Linked DNA regions of Homo sapiens: region 1 is linked to region 2. Evidence: promoter capture Hi-C in 16 types of primary human blood cells and fetal thymus (Javierre and others, 2016). All regions are on one chromosome and are shown on one strand. The core of a region is centred on a gene start or on the middle of the fragment in contact, and the rest is flanking DNA. Distances in the headings are between cores, read along the strand shown. Region 1 overlaps USP16 (ubiquitin specific peptidase 16). Region 2 holds the start of BACH1-IT2 (BACH1 intronic transcript 2).

What was found. Contacts are between HindIII fragments. The CHiCAGO score rates a contact against its expected background, and 5 or more counts as called.
Region 1: a fragment that was not itself captured here is called in contact with the fragment with the promoter of BACH1-IT2 in region 2 in 1 of 17 cell types (neutrophils); the score reaches 6.5 in neutrophils.

What each region holds. Positions count from the first base shown.
Region 1 is chr21:29,034,616-29,040,730 of GRCh38, reverse strand. It overlaps USP16 (ubiquitin specific peptidase 16), which reads right to left. Exons shown (of 18, transcript NM_006447.3): 4 at 5,791-5,894; 5 at 4,357-4,460; 6 at 3,268-3,455; 7 at 2,301-2,396; 8 at 1,575-1,705; 9 at 1,163-1,250; 10 at 44-122. Among named protein-coding and RNA genes, the nearest start is that of USP16, 13 kb to the right of the region's middle. The HindIII fragment of the contact is 3,546 bases long and covers 2,087-5,632 here.
Region 2 is chr21:29,368,468-29,374,809 of GRCh38, reverse strand. It overlaps BACH1-IT2 (BACH1 intronic transcript 2), which reads right to left and starts at 2,309. Exons shown (of 2, transcript NR_046564.2): 1 at 2,247-2,309; 2 at 830-1,568. The HindIII fragment of the contact is 7,280 bases long and covers 1-5,236 here.

The DNA.
Region 1 (6,115 bases), core at 2,610-5,109, 340 kb after region 2:
GGAATTCAACTATAGTGTTTTAGTTCAAAAAGTCAGACATTACCTTTAACTTTATTTTTTAGTTCTTCATCCAACTTTTCAGTAGAATTACCAAATGCTTTAAGTATTCCTTTACTCACTCTCTAAAAGTAATAAAATGGATATATATATACTATTAAATTTTAAATTTTATTTTCCTTAGAAATATGTAATCAAGTCAAGAAAGTGATCAGGATACAGCTCCCCATATTTACTAAATAATTCCAAAATCACATTTTCAAACTTAATTCAAGGAGCTAAAAAGGAATTATGTCACAAAGCAATCACTAACCATTGAATAAAGGTATTATCTTATCATTTCAAGATCTTAAACCTCTTCAAGCCAAAGGTTTTCAGAACATGCCCACCACCTTTGAGAAGAAACTGAAATAGCTTGTCCTACAAGCACAATGATTACATGACAGCCACAGGGTCTGACTCCAGTGCTTAAAGCCCAGCTCCATTATTTCTGGGGGACCTTAAACTAGGTACTGAACTTCTCTACAGCCTAGATTCTCAATCTATGGAATAGGAAAAAATCACAGTATCCACCTCACAGAAACTTTGTGAGAACGAAGTAAGGGAATTAATACAAAACACTGAAAACAGTGATTGGCATAAAAATAAGTGCGAAATAAATATTAGTTATTATCACTATTATTAGTACTCATTAATTCATACCCCAAATACATTTTTTTATATCCTGGCAAGTAACAAAAATTTTAAAATGCAACCAATGTTCCCTGACTCTTACAAAATGAAAATACTTCCTAGGTTCAAAAAACAGTATTAAATCAGACTCAGAATTAAAAGTAAGGGTGTGCTGCACCTGGGTTTGGGAGAAACAATTTCCAATATTTGGCAGCTCTCTTCGTATAGGTTAGTACAACAGAATCTTTAAAGAACATTAATGCTGTAAACATCAACTAAACTTAAGCCATCATGAGAAAGAGAATTACTGCTAATTCTCTGGATTCATTCTAATGGTGAAAACATACTAGTTGAAAAAGCTGGTGTAAGAAAAAATTTTAAAGTATGATGGCCTTAATAACTAGCTTTCATTGTTTTAACTCGTAAGATATCAAATGAGACAGAAAGCTTATGAAGATAAGATCATAAAATACAATGGTCATAACATGCTAACTTGGTGTTCTTCTGCTCTCATCCCATCCAATAAGTAGCGAAGCAGCTCCTGGCTGTCTTGCTGCTGATAGCCTTTAAACCGCACTGCTCTAGAGAAAAACAAAAAGACAGAAAAGCAATCTTCAGTCTACTAAGCTCTGAAGCTATTTTTAGAAAATCTTAGGATCATATCCCAAATCTCAGAGAGTTCTGGTTTCTACAAATTTCCGTTTAGTCCATTAACACCCTTGGGAGATTTAACTATCACATAAAATATATTTTAAAATCCAAATGAAAAAAAACTATGCCTTTTGTATATAGAGGGTTGACTAAATGTAATGCTATTAATATTTTTATATTTTACTATTTAATATTAATATTATTTCTCAGCATCTCACTGAGGCACTGAAAGCACAATCGAAGTGGATACTCACTTTTTACAGACCTGAGAAAAGAGTTCTTTCGGTGTCACAACCCCCTTTTTGGTCTCTTGCATCTCATTAAGAAACTGGCTCATGGCTAAAGTAAGAGGGCCTGGAGGCTCAAGGTTTATTTCTAATGGTTCCTGAATATGGGAAAAGAAATTACTTTCTTCAGTCAAATTCTGGAATCACTGACTTTACTAAAATCTAATTAGTTAACATATACTACCAATGTTCCTGACAGAACTGCCCCATTTAAAAGTTTAAAATGTACATCAAAAGAGATAGAAACTGTTTGGTCACAGACTGTCTTATGCAGAATTCAGCTCTACTATTTTAGTTTTAGATTATCTGGAACACTTACTACCTAAGAATTGAAAGAGCCAAAGCAAAATGTAAATAATAAAAATGGATAAGGTAATATTTATTTGGTTACACAGCTCTTAAGTCACCTTAAAGATGTTAAAAATAATAATGTAAGCCTAAGGCTTCTCAAACATATACACATTCCCAAGAAGGAAGCTTAACACTCGAGCATAGAAAAACAGAGCACACACACAGCAAACAGATGTAATGCCTCCTTATAACTTCTATTAGCCTGAAACTGTTTAAGTTAGTAGCCTAAAGTAAAACAAAACAAACAAAAACAGTGGAAATGAGTGTCAGTTATTTAAAATAATTTAGAAAACACACATTCAGAGAGGAAAGTTACAGACTAGAAAAGTTTAAAGAACATACTGTTAATGCCAAATCAGGTGGTTCAATTTTTACAATTGTTCCAGACATTTTCACTTCTTTTAGTAGTTCTCTAAGCACTGGTGTTTGTGACAAGTTCTAGAATGTAGGGTGAAAAAAAAAGAGAAAAATTATTTAAAGGCAAATCAACTCTGACACTTCTTAAGTGTCTATTCTATCAAAACAGAAAATCATGACCAACACTGAAAACTCTATACTTGGAAAATGAAAAGTTACAGATGCTTCTCTCCCTACTCTATTTGGGTCATAACTACTTCAGTTCTGAGCTTATTCATCACCTCAGTGGGGCATTCTCCCACCACCCAATCAGAAGTAGCTATCCCCAATCCTCCACCATGACTCTCTCACAACCACTTACCACTACCTGTAGGTACGTATTTGCTTCTATATGAGGTTATCCTGTGTTTCCTCCACCCAAGTGCAAGCTCCATGAAAGAAGCAGCAATATTTCTTTCAAACCCACTGCACCCGAGTGCTCACCAAACTCTCTTACTGTCATGCAATAAAACTTTCCTTAAGTTTTCTTTGGCCAGGCATGGTGGCTCACGCCTGTAATCCAAACACTTTGGGTGGCCAAAGGGGGTGGACGGCTTAAGCCCAGGAGTTCAAGACTAGCCTAGGCAACATGGCGAAACCCTGTCTCTACAAAAGATACAAAAACTAGCTGGGAGTGGTGGCGCATGCCTGTAGTCCCAGCTACTCTGGAGGCTAAGGTAGGAGGACTGCTTGAGCCCAAGAGGTAGAGGCTGCAGTGAGCCACGATCGTGCCACTGCACTCCAGCCGAGTGACAGAGTGAGACCCTGTCTCAAAAAAAAAAAAAAAAAAAAAAAAAGTTTTCTTTGGATACATAGAAATAAATTACTCAGGTGGAAAAAACTCAATAATGTAAGTAGCAGATTCTATGAGGAAAAGGACAGCTTTTTTAAAGGGAAAAAAATGACAATGTACCTGCATAACTGCATTGAAGAAACATGTGTTTCCCAAATTACTGAGTCCTTTCACGGTTATTTGGCAAGGAGAATTCATGGGAGGATTCTCTTTAGCCATGTTTTCCTTCTTTTCTCTCTCTTGTTCATTCTTACTCTCTTTTTCTAATTTTTTATTTTCAAGTTCAATATTTCCATTATCTTTCTCTGCTTTAAAAAAAGAAAAGATTTAGCAAAATGTGTAATACAGTCATATCGAATGCAGAAGTATACTTGGGAAACAGTACTAGAGTTTGTGAGTTTACCTGAAGTCATTCTTTCCAACCCACCCACCCATTTGATTTTAAATAGATACAGGTAAATTGCCATCCAGAAAAAAAACACAAAACCCAGTAAACAAAAAATACTCAGACCTAAAGTAAGCATTAGTTTGATAAATGAAACCAAACAGTATGTGCTTTGGTATAAATCTCCCTTTTTTACTGCACGAAAATTCTTTACAAATGAACACATCTTACCTTGTGAAATTAAGAATATAAAACAATCAAGAACATGGACATGAAATAAATTTTTTAATGAATTCTGTGGGTCAAAAATCAATCCTAAAGTAAAAAACAAATAATTCTGGCTCTGACAAAGATACTTGTGACAATAAAAACTTAAAAAACATGCTTAAAGCAAATGCTGTATGTCAGCCAATTAATTTAATTATGCATGGAAAGAACCTAAGAAATATCTGACCATTAGAAGGAATCACAAATGCTTTATGTTATCCCAGCAGACAGACTGAAATCTTGCTATTACAAAATGTACGACAGTAAGAACAGTGTAAGGCAGGTCTATAGTAAGCCTGGCTAGGGTTATGGGAATTACCTTAGTCTTAGCATTAATGGCCATTACCTTAGTCTATGGCCTTCATCACATCTGACTAGATCATTTCTCATATCCCTTCTAATACCTTATAGTTAAACCAAAAATAGTTTCATAGTTTGCAATCAACCATAACTAATGTTACTCAGCTGTATGTAATGCTAGGTAGTATAACAAATCTAAGTATCAGCAGATACACAAATCGACATTTGGTGTATATTAAAGAAACAAATTATTTTACCTGGCTTTGGAGTTGTAATGCTGGCTTGTTTTCTGACATAATCAACCACTTGACCCAACTGGTTTGAACTACAATACTGGACCTCATTATCACATACGTAACACCTGTGACCCAAAAATCAGAGATGAAAAATGACAAAATGACAACTAAAAAGGGGGAGACAAATAATAATTCCTGGAATCAAAGTGTGTAACTGCCAACTTATTCTATTAAAGAAACCGAACGTAAAAATTCTGTTTTCCTGAAGAAGACTATGCATATTAACTCTGGTTTATTATTAATAAAATTAGCCAGAATTATGGCTGCATATAAGTAGTATGATGAAATACTCCAAACGTTTTACTTTACTGGTTATAACATTGAAGTCAAAAGATTGTTTACATATATTTTAAAATACAGAATAACACTAACAAAAATAACAACTTTTTTTTGTTTGTTTTGTTTTTTGGTTTTTTTTGAGACGGAGTCTCGCTCTGTTGCCCAGGCTGCGTGCAGTGGCAGGATCTCGGCTCACTGCAACCTCCAGCTCCCTGGTTCATGCCATTCTCCTACCTCAGCCTCCCGAGTAGCTGGGACTACAGGCACCCACCACCATGCCCAGCTACTTTTTTTTTGTATTTTTAGTAGAGATGGGGTTTCAACGTGTTAGCCAGACAAAAGTAACAACTTTTACAATTGAAAGATGCCATTCAAGCCAGGCACGGTGGCTCATGCCTGTAATCCCAGCACTTTGGGAGGCTGAGGCATGCGGATCACAAGGGGATCACGAGGTCAGGAGTTTGAGACCAGCCTGACCAACATGGTGAAACCCCGTCTCTACTAAAAATACAAAAATTAGCCGGGCGTGGTGGTGCATCCCTGTAATCTCAGCTACTCGGGAGGCTGAGGCAGGAGAATTGCTTGAACCTGGGAGGCGGAGGTTGTGGTGAGCCGAGATCACACCACTGCACTCCAGCCTGGGCGACAGAAAGATTCCGTCTCAAAAAAAAAAAAAAGATGTCATTCAGTGAAGACTACTGTGAAAATGATTTTTAAGACGTAAAAATCTGTTTTAATGATGTTACAATGCAGCATCTATAACATACCAGACTGACATTTATTTTCATGCAAATTCATAGCCAAAATTTTATTACAATTTTATCTGAAATTTGTTCTTAGCGTCCCTATCTCCACTATATGCCTTATAATATCACAAGCAAGAAAAACAAAGGGGTAAAGATTCTTAAGTCTTCTATGTTACAATGTTTGTGCTTGTGCAAACGTCCAAGTAAAAGCTTCTCATAATACTGCATTCTTTAGCTTTGTGAAAGTGATGGTATTTTAAAACATACTACAAAAATTTTAAATTGCTTTCTTCTTAAACATATTTAAACATTTCCATTCTCTAATATTTCAAATAATTTCCACCCAAGAGGCAGAGGAACTGAAACTCACCATACACTCCAGTTGTCCAAACTAAGAACCAGACAGTGAGGTTCAGATCTTGGCGTCAGATAGTGCTTCAAGGCATGCTGCTCCTGAGAATTTCTGCCACAGCCCTAAAAAAATCATAATCATAAACCTCAAAGCCATAAAAACTCAGCAAGAGGGGAGAATGCATAATCTATCATAAACAAGGAAGTGGCTCATGAAATTCTGCCATTCTTACAATCTTGAAAAGAAAATGTTAGACTCTAGAATCAATATTTTGTTAAAACTTACATATGCACAGGCAACTGAGAACATTTAAGTCAACAAGTATTTAGAAAACCATGCACTC
Region 2 (6,342 bases), core at 1,060-3,559:
CTGACTCAGACCCTCAGAAAAGGCTGATGGGGAAAAACCATCCTGGAAAGTAAATAGTCAAGAGGACCTTGTAAGAGCAGACATGAGAAAACTCCCCACCCCAGTAGATTCACTAGAGACGCAGCTCTCAACTCCTTGTACCAAGACCCATAGGAATGATACACTTTACATCATACCCCTATAAACATGTACATGTGTAATTGATTAAAGTTTCATAAAGTAATATTTACTCACTATGTGCAATGCACATTGATATTTCATATTCTGTTCTGTTTTTTAAATGCTGGCCACAACCCCACACAAATTGATTTCTAGACCTTAATAGTCTCTAATCAGCAGTGTAAACAACTCTCATTAGAGGGAGAGAACCCTTAAGAGGAAGGGGAAACCTTGGGTTTCACAGGCATGAACAGCAGTGTTTCTTCTCTCTGAGATATGCCTCCCATACCCACAGCCCCTTTTTTTTCATCATACTGGGATCCTATATTCCTGATTGCCTACTTTCCAGGTGAGTTATCTCCTCTGGAGTTCCCACCTCTCTACTGGATCTCTTATGTAACCACCTGATATGGTTTGGCTGTGTCCCCACCCAAATCTCATCTTGAATTGTAGCTCCCATAATTCCCATGTGTTGTGGGAGGGACCCGGTGAAAGAAAATTGAATCGGTTTCCCCCATACTGTTCTCAAGGTAGTGAATAAGTCTCACAAGATCTGACAGTTTCGTAAGGGGTTTCCCCCTTTCCTTGGCTCTCATTCTCTCTTGCCTGCTGCCATGTAAGATGTGCCTTTCACCTTCTGCCATGATTGTGAAGCCTCCCCAGCCTCATGGAACTGTGAGTCCATTAAACCTCTTCTTTCTTTATAAATTACCCACTCTCAGGTATGTTTTTATCAGCAGTTTGAAAACAGACTAATACACTATCCTCAATGCCTTTCTAATTCTACCCATTGTACATGGATTGGACTCCTCAATGCCAACTCCATTCATGAAATACTTTCCAAGCCCTTTCATACCCAGCATGTACAAATTGTCCCCAGCACCTTCTTAACAAGTATGTCTGAATAACAGAAAACTACAATAATAATGCATGTCAGAATTATATGATGTAAAGATGTGTCTGTCACTGCTACCAGCTCTATCTATACCTCTTTCTCTGTAATCCTTATAACCATCTGACACATTAGGTCACATAGCTATTTAGCGGTGGACTTGAGCTTCGAATCCAGGTGTTCTTGGGAAACTTGCAGATCATAGAGAAGCATGAACACAAAGAATAAGTGTGGCCTTCCAGTGGTGGGGGCAGGGTGTCATGAGACACAGAGCAGTGGTAGGTCTTATGCAGAGCCTCTTTAGGGTTTTACACCACTGGTAGAAGAATCTGTCTCTAGACCGAAGAGTTCAAACCGAGAGACTTCTTGCTTTCTCACAAAGACAGGCTTCTGGCCATTTAGCTGCTGGGCTTTTCATCAGCCTTGAGGAATGAGAGACCTTTGTGGAGCTCTTGTTTCTAGGCGTGAGAGCAGGGGAGAGGCTGAAAAGCATCTGACATTCCTGGCGTCCCATTCTCTAGACAAGAGGGGACACTCATAAGGGCCTAAATACCTGTCCAAAGGCTTCAGTCACAATCCCTACTCTGTAAGGAAAATCTTGGCATCATTTCATCCCATACAACTAAGAAGAAAGATATATATCATGATAGCATATGGATGTGTTAACCATCTTCCCCCATTTTCACGTTTTAAGAATTTTAGGGCCGTGCATGGTGGCTCACGCCTGTAATCCCAGCACTTTGGGAGGCTAAGGCTGGCAGATCACAAGGTCAGGAGATCGAAACCATCCTGGCCAACATGGTGAAACCCCCGTCTCTACTAAAATACAAAAAATGAGCCAGGCGAGGTGGTGTGCGCTTGTAGTCCCAGCTACTCGGGAGGCTGAGACAAGGGAATTGCTTGAACCCAGGAGGCAAAGGTTGCAGTGAGCCAAGATCATGCCACTGCACTCCAGCCTGGCGACAGAGCAAGACTCTGTCTCCAAAAAAAAAAAAAAAAATTTTAGGTCTGGGGTGAGTTGGAGTATTGCTGAGGAGAACCTTTCTCAAGGGCAGGGCTCTCGGAGATCATGTTCTCATGGGTCCCCGGGACCGGTCCTCAGGCTCGCTAGTTTAAGGTGAGTGGAGTGGTCTCTAGGAGCAGAGCATGATAACAACGCTAGGTCACTCATTTACAACGGACTGTAATAAACTACCTTTTTCCTTCCACCAGGGGGCACCATTCACATAGACTTCAACAGCAGTGGCATCAACAGGCCTACAAAGTGGTGGTGGTAAAAAACACACTTGAGACCATCATATGTATCTGAAATCAGATACGATACCTGAAAAACATAAATCAAATTAATGCTCATATGGTTGCTTGCTGTCCAAGGAATTCAAAGCAAAGGTGGAAACTGACCCTTACATCACTTCTTCCTTCTAGATGAATAGCATCAGCTACATTTTCTTTCCCATTATGTAATGTTTCTATTCTGACCACCCACCTGTGATGGACATAGTCTTTTTAGATGTGTTAGTTTTAATATTAGTCAAGACTTAGTCTCAACCGTTCTCTATTAAGTGACTTTGCAGATATCTGATGTCATCTCCATTAATGCAGATTTTCATGTCAGATTCAGCTCTGAGTTCACCTTAATGCGGTGGTGGTTCCCATAGTGTAGTGCCCAGGCCCCCGCATCAACATCACTTGGGAACTTGTTAGAAAGGCAAGTTCCTGGTTCCCAACTCAGACCTACCTACCAAGTCAGAAATCTAAGTGTGGGGCCTGCAATCTGTGTTTTTACAAGCCTAACAGGGGATACTAATGCATGCTAAAGTTTGAGAACCACTGACTTAATATACAGTTTCCAACCCGGATGACACTAGAAACAACTACGGGACTTTACAAAAATATGGGTGTCCTGGCTTCCCCCAGAGCCACTAGGGTAGTGGAAACAAATGTCACTATCAAATGGATCTGGGTTTGAATTCTGGTTTTGTCACTCACCAGCTATGTGCCTTGTGGAGGCTCCATCTTCTCATCTGTAAAGTAAAAGTCATCGGACCTGCCTTGTAGGAAGGTGTAGGAGGGGAAGGTTCAGCAAATGCCTCATAGAGAGATTGACTCATAGTACATCTTCTTCCTTGGCCTCCACCGCAACTAGAATCTTATTCACCCGGCCTGTGAGGGTACAGTTCTCACCTTGCCCCAGAATCACCAGGTGAGAATGATTTGCTAGACCCGCTTTCTGAAGTTTCACAAATGGACAAACATTTTCACAGCTGTTACTGGGATTTTGCCATAAATCAGCAGGAACACACCCGAGATCTGACAAAGCTATTTCAAACTCTAGATCAATGAGGAGGGAAGTTGCTATGAAGCCGGGTTTGCCAACTGAGAGCATTGTAATTGTTCGAGTTGCTCTTGGGATCTAGCTCAGATTCCTGCTGACACCAGAGAAGTGAAGAATGAAAATAGTTGCCTAGAAAATCAGAAGCAGCTCCCCAAGTTACCTGCCACATACAGGTTTGTTTTTCCTTAATTATCTAGGTAATTGCTTTGCTTCCTCTACCTGCCTTTACCAAGAGATGCCTGGCCAGAAGAGCGAGGAATTAAAGTACCTGTGGAGGCTGCCCACCGAGTGAAGCTGCAGGCTGCCCATCCCATCGCAGTAGCTCCTTAGTTGTCAGTAGGTTGTTTCTATGAATGCCCCCTCCATCAGAAACCAATGAGGTTTTTCCAATTAATCTAAATCCCTGCTCTTGTGGAACTGGTGCGGAGACAGTGGTTAAATGCTAAATTGTCAGCCCAAAGTCAAATCCTTTTATTTAAAAACATAATATGCAGAATGGCTTCCTAAAACAAAAATTGGGAAAATTGTTAACATAGAGACTTCCAGGTTTTGCCAAGGGTACAACTGTTTTCTTAAACACAGTTTTTAACAATTACGTACAAATCAAACCAAAGTTCATCCAACCCACTCTCTGAATTAGTCTCAGTACAATGCGCATAGACAGCTATCACTAGAGTTAGTGAATATTATGGGAAAAATTAGAGGCAAAAGTTGAGACTGGAGCCGGTGAGAGTTAACAAAAACACTATTTATATAGAGAAAAATACATTTTAGAGAAGTATAAACATACTGCTTGGCATCAACATAAAAGCCCAAGTGCAAGTCAAAGGTAACCCAAAAGGCTCATAGGTCCTCAGACTACAGAAACCCCCCTACTGATGGCAACAGAAGGTCTGGCCTTCCACATGCTACTTCCTTAGTGTTTGTGGGGGAAAAAAAAATCCCACTGTATAAATTAGAATAGGCCAGATCATGCTACAGTAACAAATAACCCCAAAGTCTCAGTAGCTTACAACCACAAAGGTTTACCTCTTTCCCACTGTATTCAGGGTTTTCCAGAGAAACAGAACCAATAAGGGATTTAATAGAGAGAGAGGGGATGAGGGGGAGAGATAGTGATATGGTTTGGCTCTGTGTCCCCACCCAAATCCCACCAGGAACTGTAATCCCCATAATCCCCATGTGTCAAGGTCAGGACCAGGTGGAGGTAATTGGATCATGGGTGCAGTTCCCCCAAGCTGTTCTTGTGATAGTGAGTTCTCACGATATCTCATGGTTTTATAAGCATCTGGCATTTCCCCAGCTTGCACTCTATCCTGCCACCCTTGTGAAGAAGGTGCCTGCTTCTCCTTTACCTTGCGCCATGATTGTAAGTTACCTGTGGCCTCCCCAGCAATACACAACTGTGAGTCAATTAAACCGCTTTTCTTTATAAATTACCTAGTCTCGGGTATTTCTCCATAGCAGTGTGAGAATGGACTAACACAGATGGACTAATTATGAGGAATTAGCTCGCTTGATTATGAAGGCTAAGAAGTCCCATGCTCTGCCATCTGCAAGCTGCAGACCCAGGAAAGCTGGTAGTGTAGTTTGGTTTCGGACCCAAGGCCTGAGAACCAGTGGAGCTGATGGTTTAAGTCTCAGTTTGAGGGCAGAAGGAGACTGATATCCCAGCTCAATCAGTCAGGCAGAGGAGGTGAATTCTCCTTTCTCCATCTTTTGTTCTGTTCAGGCTCTCAGCAAATTGGCTAATACACTTCCATTCAGGGAAGGGCAATCTATCTTATGGAGTCCACTGACTCAAATGCAAATCTCATCTGGAAACATCATCACACAAACCCAGAAAAGCTTAGTGAAATATCTGGCCACTCCATGATCCAGTCAAGTTGACACATAAAATTAACCATCACACTCACATAACATGTTGAATGAAAGTTGCCTCTGGCTTTGACGCCCTCCCCAAACTTGTAGGTTCCAGGATGATGGAGCAGCAACCAGCTGGAATATTATCAGGTCCAGGGTGAGAGAAGGGAGACATGGAGAACAGTACACTGGTTCCCAGAAATGATAAATGTTTTTGCTGCTCCCATTTCATCGGCCACAGCAAAGCGAATGGCCTCTCTTGAGTCTGGCAGAGTTGAAGAGTAAACTCCTTCCATGGCAAAAGACGGAGGAAAAGTAAAATATTTGGCAAACAGAAATACAGTCTACCATACCGATGGAATTCTTATGCAGTCCACACTTAACTTATTCTGGACCTCTGCTCTGAGACTTCCCCGCAGATCTCTACTGAATATCTTCTTATCACTTTTTCACACAAGTCAGGCTCTTGTTTTATGCAAGGAGAGTTACAGGCTCCTCCCTTAATTTCCAAAAGTACAGCAAATATCTGGATAAACATTTAAGACAATTTCCTGTTGGCTTGAGAATAATGAGGAGAATTATAATGGAGAAAAAGAAAAATACTGTACTGGATATGAACTATCACTGCTCCTGGAGTTCTGTCCATCAGCCATGCCTCTCCACCGGCGTCCTCTCTACGTGGCCTCCCCTAGTCCATCAATTACCATGAGCCACCAGTCCCCTGGGTACCTTCTCCAACCCCCCTTATCCTCACTGCAAGAAGGGCGTTATCCACCACATCCTCACCCACAGGCAACAGCATCATAACCCTAAAAAGATGCAATTCTGCACATGACAAATTCAGCCTTTGATAATTCTATTCAGAAATGTTTAGGATGTCTGGCTCGAGCTTCTTGAGTCTAGAATAGAATTTTGCCTTTGCATAAATAAAGGTCCCAGTGAAGAATAATTTTAATCAAAGATGATGCATGTCTCCTAGCGGAACAAGAGAAAATTACAGGTAGATTTGAAATGTTTTTTTCTACTGCACACAAAAAGAAAATGGTTGTGCTGCGTACAAAAAGAAAATTATATACCTAGTCTGGATGTCCCT